2 separate regions of the Homo sapiens genome follow, and region 2 is linked to region 1. The links are contacts of gene promoters, found by promoter capture Hi-C in human tissues and cell types (Jung and others, 2019). All regions are on one chromosome and are shown on one strand. The core of a region is centred on a gene start or on the middle of the fragment in contact, and the rest is flanking DNA. Distances in the headings are between cores, read along the strand shown. Region 1 holds the start of WNT6 (Wnt family member 6). Region 2 holds the start of NHEJ1 (non-homologous end joining factor 1).

Region 1 (7,056 bases), core at 2,974-5,473:
GTCAGGGCCACAGGATAGGCTGGATGACCTGGATGCAATGAGGCTGGACAAGATGATTTCCAGAGAGCCTGGCCAATGTCCTTGAATCTGGGATTCTGTAATTCACAAAGATATGATTACAAATGAGAGAAAGACAGAGAGGCTAGGGGAAGAGTTTATTTTTATTGATTGATTGATTGAGACAGAGTCTTGCTCTGTCACCCAGGCTGGAGTGCAGTGGCATGGATCTCGGTTCACTGCAACCTCAGCCTCCCAGGTTCGAGTGATTCTTCTGCCTCAGCCTCCCAAGTAGCTGGGATTACAGGCACCTGCCACCACTCCTGGCTAATTTTTGTATTTTTAGTAGAGACAGGGTTTCACCATGTTGGCCAAACTGGTCTCGAACTCCTGACCTCAAGTGATCCGCCCACCTCAGCCTTCCAAAGTGGTGGGATTTCAGGAGTGAGCCTCTGTGCCTGAGCTGGAGACAGAGTTTAGAAAGCATGCATCACATTGGAGTAAGGAAGGGAAGTGAAAAAGAAGGTGGGAGAGAAACTTCTCAGGAACCTGGAGCCAGGTCTCCGAGCCAATTCCAAGGGCATGAGCCTCTTTCCTGACCAAGACAGTCGAGTCACTCAAAGGTCCTGGGGTCCTCTCTGCTTCTAGCCTGGCTGCTGCTAGAATGTCAGAGTGGGATGCAGGAGGCTGCTGCAGCTGCTTTCCTGGCCAGCACTGGAGCTCTGACCTGGCCAGGATTCTCTGACAAGTAGGGAGAAGAAGGCCAGGGAAAGCAGGTCCTGGGCATCGGGGAACAGCCTGGAAGCCCTTACTGGGAAAGCTGCCAGCTGAAGTGAGACTGGGGATTTAGGGGACTGGAAGAGCCTCAGGCCAGTGGGAATTATTGGTCCAGCTCATCAACCCAAACTTGATCTTGGAGGGCACTGGTAGGGTGGGGAGAGCTCAGGAGTGTAAGCAGAGTCAAAGATCCAGGGGAAGGGGATCTGGGCTCAGACCAAAGAGATGAAGTGTCAGAAATAGACAAGTGACCAGGCACAATGGCTCATGCCTGTAAGCCCAGCACTTTGGGAGGCCAAGGTGAGCAGATTGCTTGAGGTCAGGAGTTTGAGACCAGCCTGACCAACATGGTGAAACCTCGTCTCTACTAAACATACAAAATTTAGCTGGGCATGGTGGTGGGCAACTCTAATCCCAGTTACTCAGGAGGCTGAGGCAGGAGAATCATTTGAGCCGGGAGGTGGAGGTTGTAGTGAGCCAATATTGCACCACTGCACTCCAGCCTGGGCGACACAACGAGACTCCGTCTCAAAAAAATAAAAAATAAAAAGTAAAATAGGCTGGGCATGGTAATGCCATGGTAATGGCTGGGCCTGTAATCCCAGCACTTTGGGAGGCCGAGGCGGGCAGATCACTTGAGGTCAGGAGTTTGAGACCAGCCTGACCAACACGGTGAAACCTTGTTGAAACCTGGTGAAACCTCTACTAAACATGGTGAAACCTCTACTAAAAATTCAAAAACTAGCCAGGCATGGTGGTGGGTGCCTGTAGTCCCAGCTACTTGGGAAGCTGAAGCAGGAGAATCACTTGAACCGGGGAGACAGAGGTTGCCATGAGCCAAGATCGCACCACTGCACTCCAGCCTGGGCGACAGAACGAGACTCTGCTCTAAATAAATAAATAAATAAAAATAGAAATAAAGAAAGAAAAACAAAATGAATAGACAAAGGAGAGTGAAGGGGCCAAGGCAGGGAGGAGAGGCTCATTCCCTCAGAGGCACATCTGAGCAAGGCAGTCAGACACGTTATCACTGGGACCCCTCACTCCTCACCCGGCACGCCCTGCAGCTGTGGCCATGAAGGCCTCTGTGTTCTCCCACACCTGCCCGTGTCACCTCCTCCCCCACTCCCTTCTTCCCAGCTTCAGGGTCAGTCTCTCAGGGACCAGGCCACTCTCCTTTGGCTTGGCTGCCACCCAGCAGTCCTTCCTGAACAAAGGAAGCCCCACAGATACAGAGCCCAGAAAGGTGAATCAGCCAGTCCAATGACACTCTGCAAGCCCATCTCCAGCACCAACACACTCCTAGGCCTCAGGGCTCCTAAAGACAAGGTATCTGCCTTCCAGGAGCAGGGAAGAGAGACCTAAAGGACTGTTGTCAGCCAAATGCAGTAACCAGCATAGTTGCCCAATGTATGTGATACAGTGGGAGCGCAGAGAAGGCAATGGAAGGAGGACAAGGGGGCAGCTTCAGGGAGGAAATGGTATTTTAACCGTAAGGATAAGAATGATTTAGACAGAGGGGGAGGGAGGGGAAGGAAGACAATGGCCATCAGGGAGGGACCCCATCCCCACACCTTGAAAAAGGGCAAAGTTAGGCGTTTATGGGGAAAAGAGATTCCTTTACAACATTTTCCTTGGAACTCTGGATTTTAAATGTAAATGAATCCCCTTTTTCACTCCTGGGGACCCTGGCCAGGAGAAGCTGGGTTGTGAGGGGGGCGCTGTACATACTGAGTACCTCCTAAGGTCCTATTATTCTACACGTCCTCCCACCTAACCTTCCCAGCAAGCCTGCCAGGTAGGGAGACTGTTATCCTATTTCCAGTTAAGACTGAGAGGTAGGGAAAGGAAGTGACTAGCCCAAGATCACAAACATAATGTTTAGATCTTAGATCTATCTGCTTCAAAGCTGCCACTGCATTATACTAAGCCGGATCAAAGGGCATATGTTCCCTAGATAGGACCTGGGTCGTCCTCGGTTCGCCCTTTCCGTGACACTAGCGTCGGACGGCTCTCCGCATCACGGAGTAGGGATTGCTGCCCGCCACTCCCTGTGTGGGCATCCTACTCCCTATCTCTCCAGAGCACGGGGATCTGCCTCTCTTCCAAATCTGGGGGGCGAGGGAGGAGCGGAGGGTCGGCATCCAGCCAATCACATGGCAATATGCAAATAGACACGACCCTGCCTTCTTAGGATTGGCTAACCCGTCAGCGTTATTGTCCAAGTCTCTCCTCTCTAAACACTGAGCTATTCCGGGCGAGGGTTTGCGGCTCTGGAGACCTAGGGGGAAAAAAGTCCTTTGGATCTGGATCTCTGAGCCGTCCCGGTCGGGCACCCTCCTTCCCCGCCCCGGCCCCACCCCCACCCCCAAGGCTCGAAGCTCCCGCAACCTTCGCTGCCTAGGTGTCCCTTCTAGCTAGGGCCAAGCCTGGGAAGACGCCCCCTTCCCTTGGCTGGCCAGGCCCCTCTCCCTTCCCGCAGGACCCCTCCCGGTCCCGTATCTCCCGGGCTGCACATATTTTTTCATTCATGACCCCCAGGTCTGGAAGGGCCGGGCGCCTGGGTCCGGTTCCTTCCGCTCCTCCTTTTCCTTGCTTGGGGAGGACGAGGTAGAGAAAACCAGGGTCCTGACTCACTTTCCCCTTTATATTCCCTCTGTCGTCACTAAGGCCCACTCCTCAGGAGCCCAGAGAGAAGCCGGTGGGTTGGTAGGCAAAGCAGGGCGGGGAAGGGGCAGCTGTGTGGCCCTCTCTGCCTTGTGGCTTCCCACCTTGTTCCTGTCTTCTCCAAATCCAGCCCCATACCCTGAATCCAGGGCCCTCCTCACACATTCTTTTCCTCGGATATGTGTCTTCCCGAAAGATCTTTCCTACCCACTCGCCTGTTCCTTGGTGAGCTGGGTGAGCGCATAACTTGGCGGGGGGTGGGAGAGAACCCGGGAGGAGGAAACACAATAGAATGTTCCCGAGGGTTAGGAACGTCGAAGTGGAGTTCAGAAACGCCCCCGGCCGAGGCCAGAAAGCTGGGCTCGGAGAGCAGGTAGAGCCGGGAGGCTGCGGAACACCCCAGTCTGTCCTGGGTCCCGGGGTCCCCACCCTCCAGGGTCCAGAGCCGCGCCAGGACAGCCGGACTCACCACCACAGTCCGCCGACGTGCGCCGGGCACAGGAGCAGCAGCAGCAGCAGCCCGAGGCGGGAGGGTAAGGGCGGCAGCATCGTGACCGCCCTACGGCCGCCCGGGTGGGCAGGGGGCGAGGCTGCGGGGCGAACCGCGGCGCGCGAGGGCCCGGGCTTCAGTGCGAGCGCGGCGAGCGCAACGGCGGCGGCCGGGAGGCGAGGGATCCGGCGGCGGCGGGGGGGCCCATCCCGGGCGAGGAGGGCGCGGCGGAGGCGGAGAGCGGACGGGGCAGCCAGCGCCTGTGTCTCCTGCGGAGCTCGCTCGGGAGAAGAAATCAGAGCCGGGGGCGGAGGTGGGAGGGGAGCGGGGCCGAGGCGGGGGCGGGGGGCAGGGGGCCGGAGGGAGGTGGCAGTTGCGACAGTCAGGCAGCGGGACTCTCGGGAGCGAGCCGTGCGCCCCGGGGCGGCTGGCGCGGAGCGCAGCGGAGGGCGGGAGCGGGGTGCCGGGGCGGGGCCCCAGCGCGCTTCGGGCTGTGGGACCCGCCCGCTTCGCCCCCTCGCCTCGCCTCTCTCGGACTTGGAGCCCCCCGCCGCTCGCGGCCGCCTGGAGTCGGGGGCAAGGAAGGGCTGGGAAGAAGAGTAGAGAGGGGTGAGGGGGGAGAAAGAGGAGCTGAGGAATGGGGGACGGGCTGGAAGGGAGACGTTTGACAGGTTTGTTGACTGTAAAGAGAGAAAACTTCCCAGGAATGAGGGAGTTTGGGGCGGGGGGCGGTGCGGAGGGAGATGCTGGCGCGGAGGCAAGAGAGGAAGTTGGCCTGGGGCGCGGGGTGCTTCGGCGAGGGTTGTCAAACTGGACCGCCCGACAGGCGGATGCTGGAGGGGTCATCTCTTTCCGTGTCCCTGTTCGATGCCTCATGCCCCTTCGTCAGCCTCTCCTTGAAGAAGGGAGGAAGCCCTGGGCCTCCGCTCTCGCTCCCCCAGCCATCCCACCTCTCAAGCCCGCGTTCTAGGGCGGGGAGGTGGGGGAAATGAGAGGGCAAGAGTAGCCGCTCCAGGGCGTGCGCGCAAGCGCTGGCACTTGTAAGCGAGCGGGAGAATGGAGGTCGCAGACTTTCAAGAGATCGAGGGGTCAGAATTCGCTTTAGCCCGGCCTCGCGTGTCCAAGAGTCCCTGCCTCGAGTTCCTCCCCCAACCTGGCCCGGGTAGAAGGGGTGGGAGAGCCAGCTGCAGGTGAGATGGCGTTTATCAGATTTTCTAATGCCACAAAAATGTCTTTGATGCCCCTGGCCCCCTCCCCACGAGGGGGAGATCAAAGGCTCCGTGGGGAAGAGGGACAGCTCCATTCATCATGCCATTCGGCTGGCAGTGGGCAGCAGCCCCTGCCCCTCCCGTCCCCGACGTGCCCCGGGGTGCCAAGGGACAGGTGGTGTGGGACATTCTCCCTGCCATACCATCAAGAGCAACCATCAACCTTTAAAGCTGTCCTGGAGTGGGGAGGACAGATCGAGTCCCTATGGCAGAAACGTCAGGCGCCCAGAAGAAAGCTCCTGGTTGTTGGTAGAGAGGGGGACCTGAATGTGGGGACTGAGGTCGCTTCCAAGAGAGTGATGACTGAGGTCACTTCCAAACAACCTTGGTGAGCAGAGAGAGAAGACAAGATCCTGAGTCACCCAGAGAGGGGGGACAAGTAGATCAAGATGAGGCCAAGGGGCCAAGGGATGTGACCCCAGGGGAGGAGGCTGATGGGGGAAGGAATGAGCAGACAGAGGTGAGAGAACTGGAGAAGTGTGGACTTGCCGGCAAGCAAGCTCCATGTCAGGGCCCTGGTGTCCAGGCTGCATCAGCTCAATCCCTTGCACTGGATACAGAGAGTTCTGGTGAAAGGGCTAGGACACACTAAAGAAGGGGAAGGGGGCAGGGGGCAGTGGCAAGAGTCATAGAGAGAGGGTCTGGTCTAAGCACTGCCCTCTCCCATTTTAGCCTTTAACAGTATCCAAAGGCCACGCACAGCCCCTGCACCTAGTAACTTTGCACACAGTTGCTGTTTCTACGGGGCAATGCCAATCTGGACAGTTCCTAAAGGTCAATGCCAACTCTGGACACTACACATTCAAAGACATACCCAGTTTGGGTGCACACTCCAGCCATGTGGTACCAAATAGGCAGCTAGAGGGCTCTGGGGGTCCCTGGAGGCTACAGGTGGCCAGTGGCCAGCCTCCTGGGAGCCACTGTCTGGGTTCCGAACCCCCTGCCCAGCCCTGCTCCCACCCTGCTACTGTTATTGCAGATTATGAAATGCTCTCCCTATCCTGCATTCTTCTCCGAGGCAAGAATTTTAATGTATTTGTCTTTGTCATCAGGGGACCTGGGCTCTGAGACCGCCCTGCCTCTGCCTGAGGAGGGAGCGCCCCAAATCTAGTCCCTGCTGCCTCCAGACCCAGCCTCTCTCCATTACCACCCCTCCCCCATGCCCTAGCCCTGCCCCTCGCCTCCCCTTCCTAAGACACAGTCTCTCTGTGGGGTGGATAAAAATGATGTTATTGAAACAACAGAATTGGGAGCAGTGGCAGGGAGCAGGGATCAGCTCAGGAAACTGGGGCGTTTGCCAAGAAGCCTTCTCCCCCGCAGGCGGCCTTTCTGCCCCCACCCCCCACCTTTCCTGCAAACATACACAGCTGGCCCCACCCCTCCTGCAGCACTCACTCTAGCCAGATCTTGCAGAATCTTTTGCCATCTCTGGACTCCCCAAGCCCTTGTCCCTCCTGCACTCAGTCCCATTCCAGAATCAGTTGGCCCAGTAGTGCCTGCAGAGCATTATAGGGTTGGGGGGTCGGGGGGAGGTGGGCTGGAATCTGTGACAGGCAGGACTCCTGGAGTCCCAATTCCTAGGGCTTCTGCCCCAACAGCACCCTTTTGCTCACTCTCCTTTGCCCTCTCCGCATCCCCATCAAGGGGCTGGCTGGCATCTGGGCAGAGCCAGAGTGATGACTTCTGTTGTTTTGCCCCCAAACCTCCAAAGAGATGAATTCAGATGTTCCTGAGCCTTCAACCCACCACTATCACCTTAGAAGACTTACAAAGGAGCAGGAGCTGGAGAGGGGGTGGCAGGAGGTAACAGACCATGGTGCACAAAGATAGATCAAGATATGTGACATACATGCCCCC
Region 2 (7,056 bases), core at 3,159-5,658, 300 kb before region 1:
CCCATGGGCACTGCATCCAGCTTCCCCAACGTGGGCAAAGTGGGTCTTATCCAGGTACGTGGACCTGGGATGGGAGTGGGGTAGGATGGAGCTAGAGGGGAAGAAGAAGGACAGGAACTTACACCGATTGATTGCCAGGTGTGCCTAGCACCTCACATCAACTATCTTACTTGGGGAGGTGCCTAAGATTAGACTTTGGGCTAAGAGAGTGGGGAAGTGAACAAATCACCACGGAACTCCTGTGCATGAGGCACTGTATCAAGGCTAGGGCAAAGAACCAGTCACATAAAGTTCTGCTCTCTTGGGGACTTCATAGAGGGAGAGGCAGACAGTTGAAGGAAAAAAGTATCTTTTTAAAAAAGTGGGCCAGGCATGGTGGCTCACACCTGTAATCCTAGCACGTGGGGAGGCTGAGGCAGGCAGATCACTTAGGCTAGGAATTCAAGACCAGCCTGGCCAACATGGTGAAACCCTGTCTCTACTAAAAATACAAAAATTAGCTGGGCATGGTGTTGTGCACCTATAATTCCAGCTACTCAGGAGGCTGAGGCAGGAGAATCGCTTGAGCCTGGGAGGCAGAGGTTGCTGTGAGCCGAGACCGCACCACTGCACTCCAGCCTGGGCGACAGAGCGAGACTCCATCTCAAAAAATTAAAAATTAAAAAAAGAAAAGTGAAGAAAATTTCAGAAGGCAATAAGTGCTATATAAAAAAATCAGGGTAGTGGGATGGAAAGGAGGCACGTTTAGATAGACTGGCCAGGAAGGCTTCTTGGAAGAGTAACATTTGAGCTGGGATCCAAATGATGAGAAGGAACCAGTAAGGCAAAGACCTGGGACAGTCTGAGGAAGTGGCTGTGTTTTCCAGTGTCTTTTCTTCATGCAGGCTGGATCTCAGCAAGTGGCTCACTTAGTGGGGCTACTCTGCGTGGGGCTTGGACTCTCCCCCAGGTTGGCTCAGCTCCTCACCACCATCCCACTGCCTGTTGTTGGTGAGTGGATGTATCAACAGGGCTGGTATTGAACTGCTACTCCCCAGTGTGGCCTGATCAGTTCTTTAGGATGGCACCCTTTCCTTCTAAATAGCTTTCCTGGATGGATGGGTGGATGGATGGATGGATGGATGGATATGAGCATGTGTCAGCCTCAATTTCTCAGCCCAACATTTTGGTCTTCTCTTGATTGGGCTTCTGGGCTTCCTGAAGAATCAGAAATCAGCCTCAGGCTGGGCGTGGTGGCCCACACCTGTAATCCCAGCACTTTGGGAGGCCCAGACAGGCAGATCACTTGAGGTCAGGAGTTCGAGATCAGCCTGGCCAACATGATGAAACCCTGTCTCTACTAAAAGTGCAAAAATTAGCTGGGCGTGGTGGCACATGCCTGTAATCCCAGCTACTCGGGAGGCTGAGGCAGGAGAAATCGCTTGAATCCGGGAGTAGGAAGCGGAGGTTGCAGTGAGCCGAGATTGCACCACTGCACTCCAGGCTGGGCGTTACAGTGAGACTTGCTCTCAAAAAAAAACCAAAAAAACAAAAAAACAAAAAAAACAAAAATCATTCTCTTGGGTTTTATTTGTTTCCCATTACAACCTGCTTGCCCTGCAATACTCCATGCTATGTGAGCCCCCTTGACTCCTCCTGACCCCCTTGATTTCTTCTGTATGAGACAGGTGGGGTGCTGGGGGTGACCCAGGCTGTGGTTTTGTCTGCTGGATTCTCCAGCTTCTACCTGGCTGACATAGACTCTGGGCGAAATATCTTCATTGTGGGCTTCTCCATCTTCATGGCCTTGCTGCTGCCAAGATGGTTTCGGGAAGCCCCAGTCCTGTTCAGCACAGGTAGGTGGAAGGGAAGAGGCGTTGCTCAGTAGCAGGAAAGCAAGTTGAGGCTTCAGGCTGCCCGGACTCCTGGCCCCACAGCCTTCTCTGGGCTTTGGTGTAAATACTTCATCCATTTGTTTAACAGATATTTATTGAGCACTATGCTAGCCATTTGGAATACAAAGATGCCTTCCGTTATTACAGCGTAGTACAAGAGATGAGATGTGTAGGAAAATAACAGGAAAGGTTCAGATAAAGAGCTACAGTGCTCAGTGGCAAGAGAGATAGCTTCTGTTTGAGGTGATCCAGTAACAGAGCTGGTCTTGAAGGATGGTAAGTTTTAAACATCTTTGGTGAGAAGAAGGTCATTCCTGATGGAGGAACCATCATTTATGCAAAGACACAGAAGTGGGAAGTCTTAGGATATGTCCTGAGAGCAGTAAATTGCTTAATTTGTCTCACCCAGTTCTCAACTGGGTGATTTTGCCCCCATGGGGACATTTGGCAATGTCTGGAGACATTTTTGGCTGTTACAAATGGAGGAAGAGGGAGTTGTTACTAGGGTTTAGTGGATAGAAAGATGCTGCTAAACATCCTACACTGTACAGGACATCCCCCCTGCACCACCACCCCCAACAAAGAATTATCTGGTCCAAGATGTCAGTAGGACTGAGGTTGAAAAACCCAGGATAGAGCATAGAGGGTAAAAAATGGGAGATGAGGTTGGGACTTAAATATTACGCTTTCTAGAGAAAGGGAACCTGGAATAGTCAAAGCATATATGGAGGGTGTGTGGATGATCAGAACACAGGGTGTTGAGCAGGAATCCTGTGGGAAAGGCCTGGATTTGGAAAGTGGAGAGTAGAAAGACAAAGGGTGAGAGGGATGAAATGACAATTCAGAAAGATCTGTCCTTAGTCCAAGGCTTAGGTTTAGGTCTGGGAGGGTAAGACTCCTGGGCTTGGATATAGGATCAGAGTTCCCTTCCTGCCTGGCCCCAACTCTTCATAGGCTGGAGCCCCTTGGATGTATTACTGCACTCACTGCTGACACAGCCCATCTTCCTGGCTGGACTCTCAGGCTTCCTACTAGAGAACACGATTCCTGGTAAGTTGAGGCTAGGCCCTAGCAGACTGGGGAGTGGCCAGGAAGCCATCCCTCCCTGGGATGGGCAATAGCCTGACAAACCTCTCTTTTGCAGGCACACAGCTTGAGCGAGGCCTAGGTCAAGGGCTACCATCTCCTTTCACTGCCCAAGAGGCTCGAATGCCTCAGAAGCCCAGGGAGAAGGCTGCTCAAGTGTACAGACTTCCTTTCCCCATCCAAAACCTCTGTCCCTGCATCCCCCAGCCTCTCCACTGCCTCTGCCCACTGCCTGAAGACCCTGGGGATGAGGAAGGAGGCTCCTCTGAGCCAGAAGAGATGGCAGACTTGCTGCCTGGCTCAGGGGAGCCATGCCCTGAATCTAGCAGAGAAGGGTTTAGGTCCCAGAAATGACCAGAACGCCTACTTCTGCCCTGGTTAATTTAGCCCTAACTCTCATCTGCTGGAGAGTCAGCTCCCAAACTGTTCTTTCTTGTAGGCAGAGGATATGTGTGTGTGTATTACATGGGACTGTCTAGAGGTTCCATTTCCCAATAGGGTGGGTTGCCTTTCCTTGTCTTAATTAGGCCTAACTGTTCCAGAGCAGAGGCCATGATTTAGTGGACCATGAATGATTGAGATTTTGCCTGTGTACTATCAATGCCACTTGAACCCCAGCATTCACTTTAATACTTACTGAGCATCTCCCATGTGCAAGGTCCTGGAACTACAGGGATAAGACAGGGTCCATGCCGTCTCAAGGCATTTACGGTTTAAAAAGACCTTTGTAATTACTAACGAAAATGCAAAGCAGAAAGCAGTCTGTAATAAAGATTAAAATAATGCCGTGGGAGCAAAGAGGAAGGGATAATGAATTCTGATTGGGGACAGTGGGAAAGGCTTTATGCAAGAAGCAATGAGGATGGCCTTGACAAATGAGGATTTTTGGTTTTGGAAAATGGATGCAGAGAAGTTTTCAGGTTCGGGGTCCAGCTTGAGCAAAGCCATGGGTTGTACAAAGTCCAAGATAGGTGAGGGGTTTCAAATTTCTCAGTAGTGAGGGAGTATAAGTACGGGGATGATGGAGAAATGAAGCAGGAGAGGTAAAGGATGAGGTCGGACTATGGGACTTATGCCTGGGAGACTCCTTCCTTCAACAACTCTAGTGCTGGTGGAGGACCTGAGAGATCATCTACAGAAGTTCAATCCCTTATTTTGTTAAAAAGAGACCGGATAGGTAGGGGAGGGAAGAGAAGTGACTCAAGTTTGACAAATCCAAACCTGGGCTCCCCTCTCCTGCGCCTCGCCCGCTATTCTTTCCACTCGGCCAGCGTGACTCCAAGACGCGCCACTACCCTTCTACTAGCCGGCTGCCCGGCCTCTCCTCCACTTACCCTGGCCACTGGGGCGCTCCTCTCATCAGTGTCCCAGGCCCAGAAGCCCCGCCCACGCCAGGCATAGGCCCCGCCCCTGTATCCCAAGACCCTGCCTCCTCTTGCGGTGGGGGGAAAGCGGCCTCTTACTCTAGGCCTTTCGGTTTGCGCGAGCGGGCAGGAAAGCGTGCGTGCGGCTAAGAGAGTGGGCGCTCTCGCGGCCGCTGACGGTAGGTGGAATCGCGTTCGAGTCCGGGCAGGAGCAAGCCAGCGAGGGGCTGCTCAGACGCTGCGGGTTGGCCCTGGCGCTGGCCTTTTCTCCCTGGAGGGAGCGCGCGCTGCCGGGGTCCAGGGCAGGCCTCCGGGGGAGGGGTGGGCGGGGCCGCGCGTGCGCAGTCCGCTGGCTGCTGCCCGGCGTGGATGGTAGGGCTCGAGTGAAGGTACTCGTTGGTCGCCTGTTTGGTGCGACGAAGCCGCTGGTGGCCGGCTTTGTTGCCCCTTGAAGCCGCGCCCCAGTGCAGCCAGTGCTGTAGAAATGGGAAGGCGGACAGCGAAGGCTGTTATAGCTGGGGCGGGTGGAAGCGGGACGCCTGGCGGCTCCTGGGGTGGGGCTATGGTTGTGGTGGGACCTAGGGTTCGCGCTGTCCCAGGGGGACCGGGCGGGGCCCAGCCGGGATGCTCTCTGGGCCTCTACTGCCCTCTGCAGGGCGTCGGAGGAACTGCCCAGAGGGGTCACTGCTGAGGAGCGGACTCGGTGCAGATAAAGGTTCTCAAGGGACCCCTCCGCCGGGATGCCGCTCAGCGCCCCTCCACTCAAGAGAAATAAACCCGTGAATCTCGTTAATGTGAATGTTAGAGGCAGCCTTGAAGGAAAAAAGAAAAGGATGAAGTGTAGAAGCTTCGGACGCAGAACGGGACGCGTGTGGTGGGAGCAGGCAGCCGGGGTCTGGTGCCCAATGTGTCAGGCCTTTTTATAGGGCCCGTTACTCCTGGCCACATTTTAAACTCCTCCCCCTTTACCCAACAGACAAACAAAACCCATCAATTTGAGGGTTCTGAGCTTCCGGGCTTTCCGAAGGAATGGGCTAGAATAGTAAACCCAATTTTGGCAACTGTTAAGAGTACACTGGGGAGTGCCTATAAGGGAGATGAAAGTGGCGACTTTATTCGCGTTTGTGACCTTTGGCATTGTGGAGCTCTTGTCCGGCTAGGACTAGCTTAATCATCCCATGACCACTTCTGTCCCCATAAGAGCAGCATGTGGGAAATGTGACGGAAACACCATCCTCCAAACACAAGGCTTTGAGGATGCCATAAAGAAAGATCACCACGTATATGTATATATATGCATATATATATATGCATATATATATGCATATATATATGCATATATATATGCATATATATATATGCATATATATATGCATATATATATAAAGTTATGTCACAAGTCACAAGGGCACACTTCAAAAGCTAGGGGAAATGACTGTGTTAATCAGACTTAATAAGGAATTTCATTATTTACATTCTAAATTTTTCCTTCCTGGTACTTCTGTTCATTTTATATTTGTAGACTGGAATAATGAAGGAAATTGACATATTTTTTTCTCCCCCACAGGAAAAACAATCACATTCTCTGTCAAGCAGCCGTAGTTCTGATTGTCTACTAGGTTAAGCCTACTACTTTAGCTGCTGAGATAGAAAAGTTGTTTTGCAGGGGTTCCAGGCTGGGCATGTTGTCATTGGTGGCAGTGCACTGGAGTGGGAATGTGGAGGATGAGTTAAGTGGAAGTTAATTCAGTCTTTACCTCTGTGATGTGCTCTGCCTTGTATTCATGATTTCCTAGTCATTCTGGTTTTTGTTGAAATGAAATTTAGGTCTTTTCTGTTGCTCCTGGACACAGGTTCTTAGCTCTTTTTTGTGTCATCGATCCCTGAGAGTTTGATGATAGCTGTAGACCTCTTCCCCCTCCCCATGCATATATGCGTGTACACATAACATTTTCATATAATTCTAGAGGATTCACATGCATTGACTCTAGATTAAGAACCTGTTTTAGGGATTTTTAAAAAAATCCTGAGAGCTTCCTAAACTTTGTTTTTAGATAATGATCAAATACTTCGAATTTCCTGGCCCTGACACTATGACTTATGATGTTTTATAAGACAAGAACTATTCCTTCTCTTCTAGTTCTGGGAAAGGATAGGAGTGACATATTTATTAGGAATGTGATAAAGATGGAACAAGAAGGGTTTAGGTTTCCACGTTATGTTATAGTATTAGAAAGCAGAAATACTAACAGCAATATGCTGAGGTTTAAACACTATGGAAGAAAGATTTTCTGTCCTCTAGGAATGTAATATGGGAAAAAAAAAACCCTCAAGATTTTAAATATACTTTTAGTGGCCAGGAGGTAGTAAAGTCAGTGCTCAGCTGGTTGTATACTGGGAGAACGTAAATCCATGCCTTCTATTTTATCAGGGAGGATTTTCATGAGATTTTAGTTGATACAGACTGGTTTGGGTGGTGCCCTCCCTAGGCCAGCATGACCCTGAGGCTCTTTACTAAATGAGGACTTTTTTGCAGATGGAAGAACTGGAGCAAGGCCTGTTGATGCAGCCATGGGCGTGGCTACAGCTTGCAGAGAACTCCCTCTTGGCCAAGGTTTTTATCACCAAGCAGGGCTATGCCTTGTTGGTTTCAGATCTTCAACAGGTGTGGCATGAACAGGTGGACACTAGTGTGGTCAGCCAGCGAGCCAAGGTAAGTATGAGGAGAAGTA

What was found. The method cuts DNA at HindIII sites, captures the fragments that hold promoters and counts their contacts. A contact is called where the count stands out against the background at its distance.
Region 2: the fragment with the promoter of NHEJ1 here is called in contact with the fragment with the promoter of WNT6 in region 1 in 1 of the 25 tissues and cell types used here (IMR-90 fibroblasts).

Annotation. Positions count from the first base shown.
Region 1 is chr2:218,856,972-218,864,027 of GRCh38, reverse strand. WNT6 (Wnt family member 6) reads right to left here and starts at 4,223. Exons shown (of 4, transcript NM_006522.4): 1 at 3,911-4,223. The coding sequence starts at 3,990. The HindIII fragment of the contact is 31,874 bases long and covers 1-7,056 here.
Region 2 is chr2:219,158,167-219,165,222 of GRCh38, reverse strand. NHEJ1 (non-homologous end joining factor 1) reads left to right here and starts at 4,408. Exons shown (of 8, transcript NM_024782.3): 1 at 4,408-4,503; 2 at 6,861-7,037. The coding sequence starts at 6,861. SLC23A3 (solute carrier family 23 member 3) reads left to right here. Exons shown (of 12, transcript NM_001144889.2): 8 at 1-54; 9 at 885-990; 10 at 1,668-1,835; 11 at 2,829-2,924; 12 at 3,019-3,758. The coding sequence ends at 3,314. RefSeq lists a silencer at 4,624-4,743. The HindIII fragment of the contact is 15,467 bases long and covers 1-6,490 here.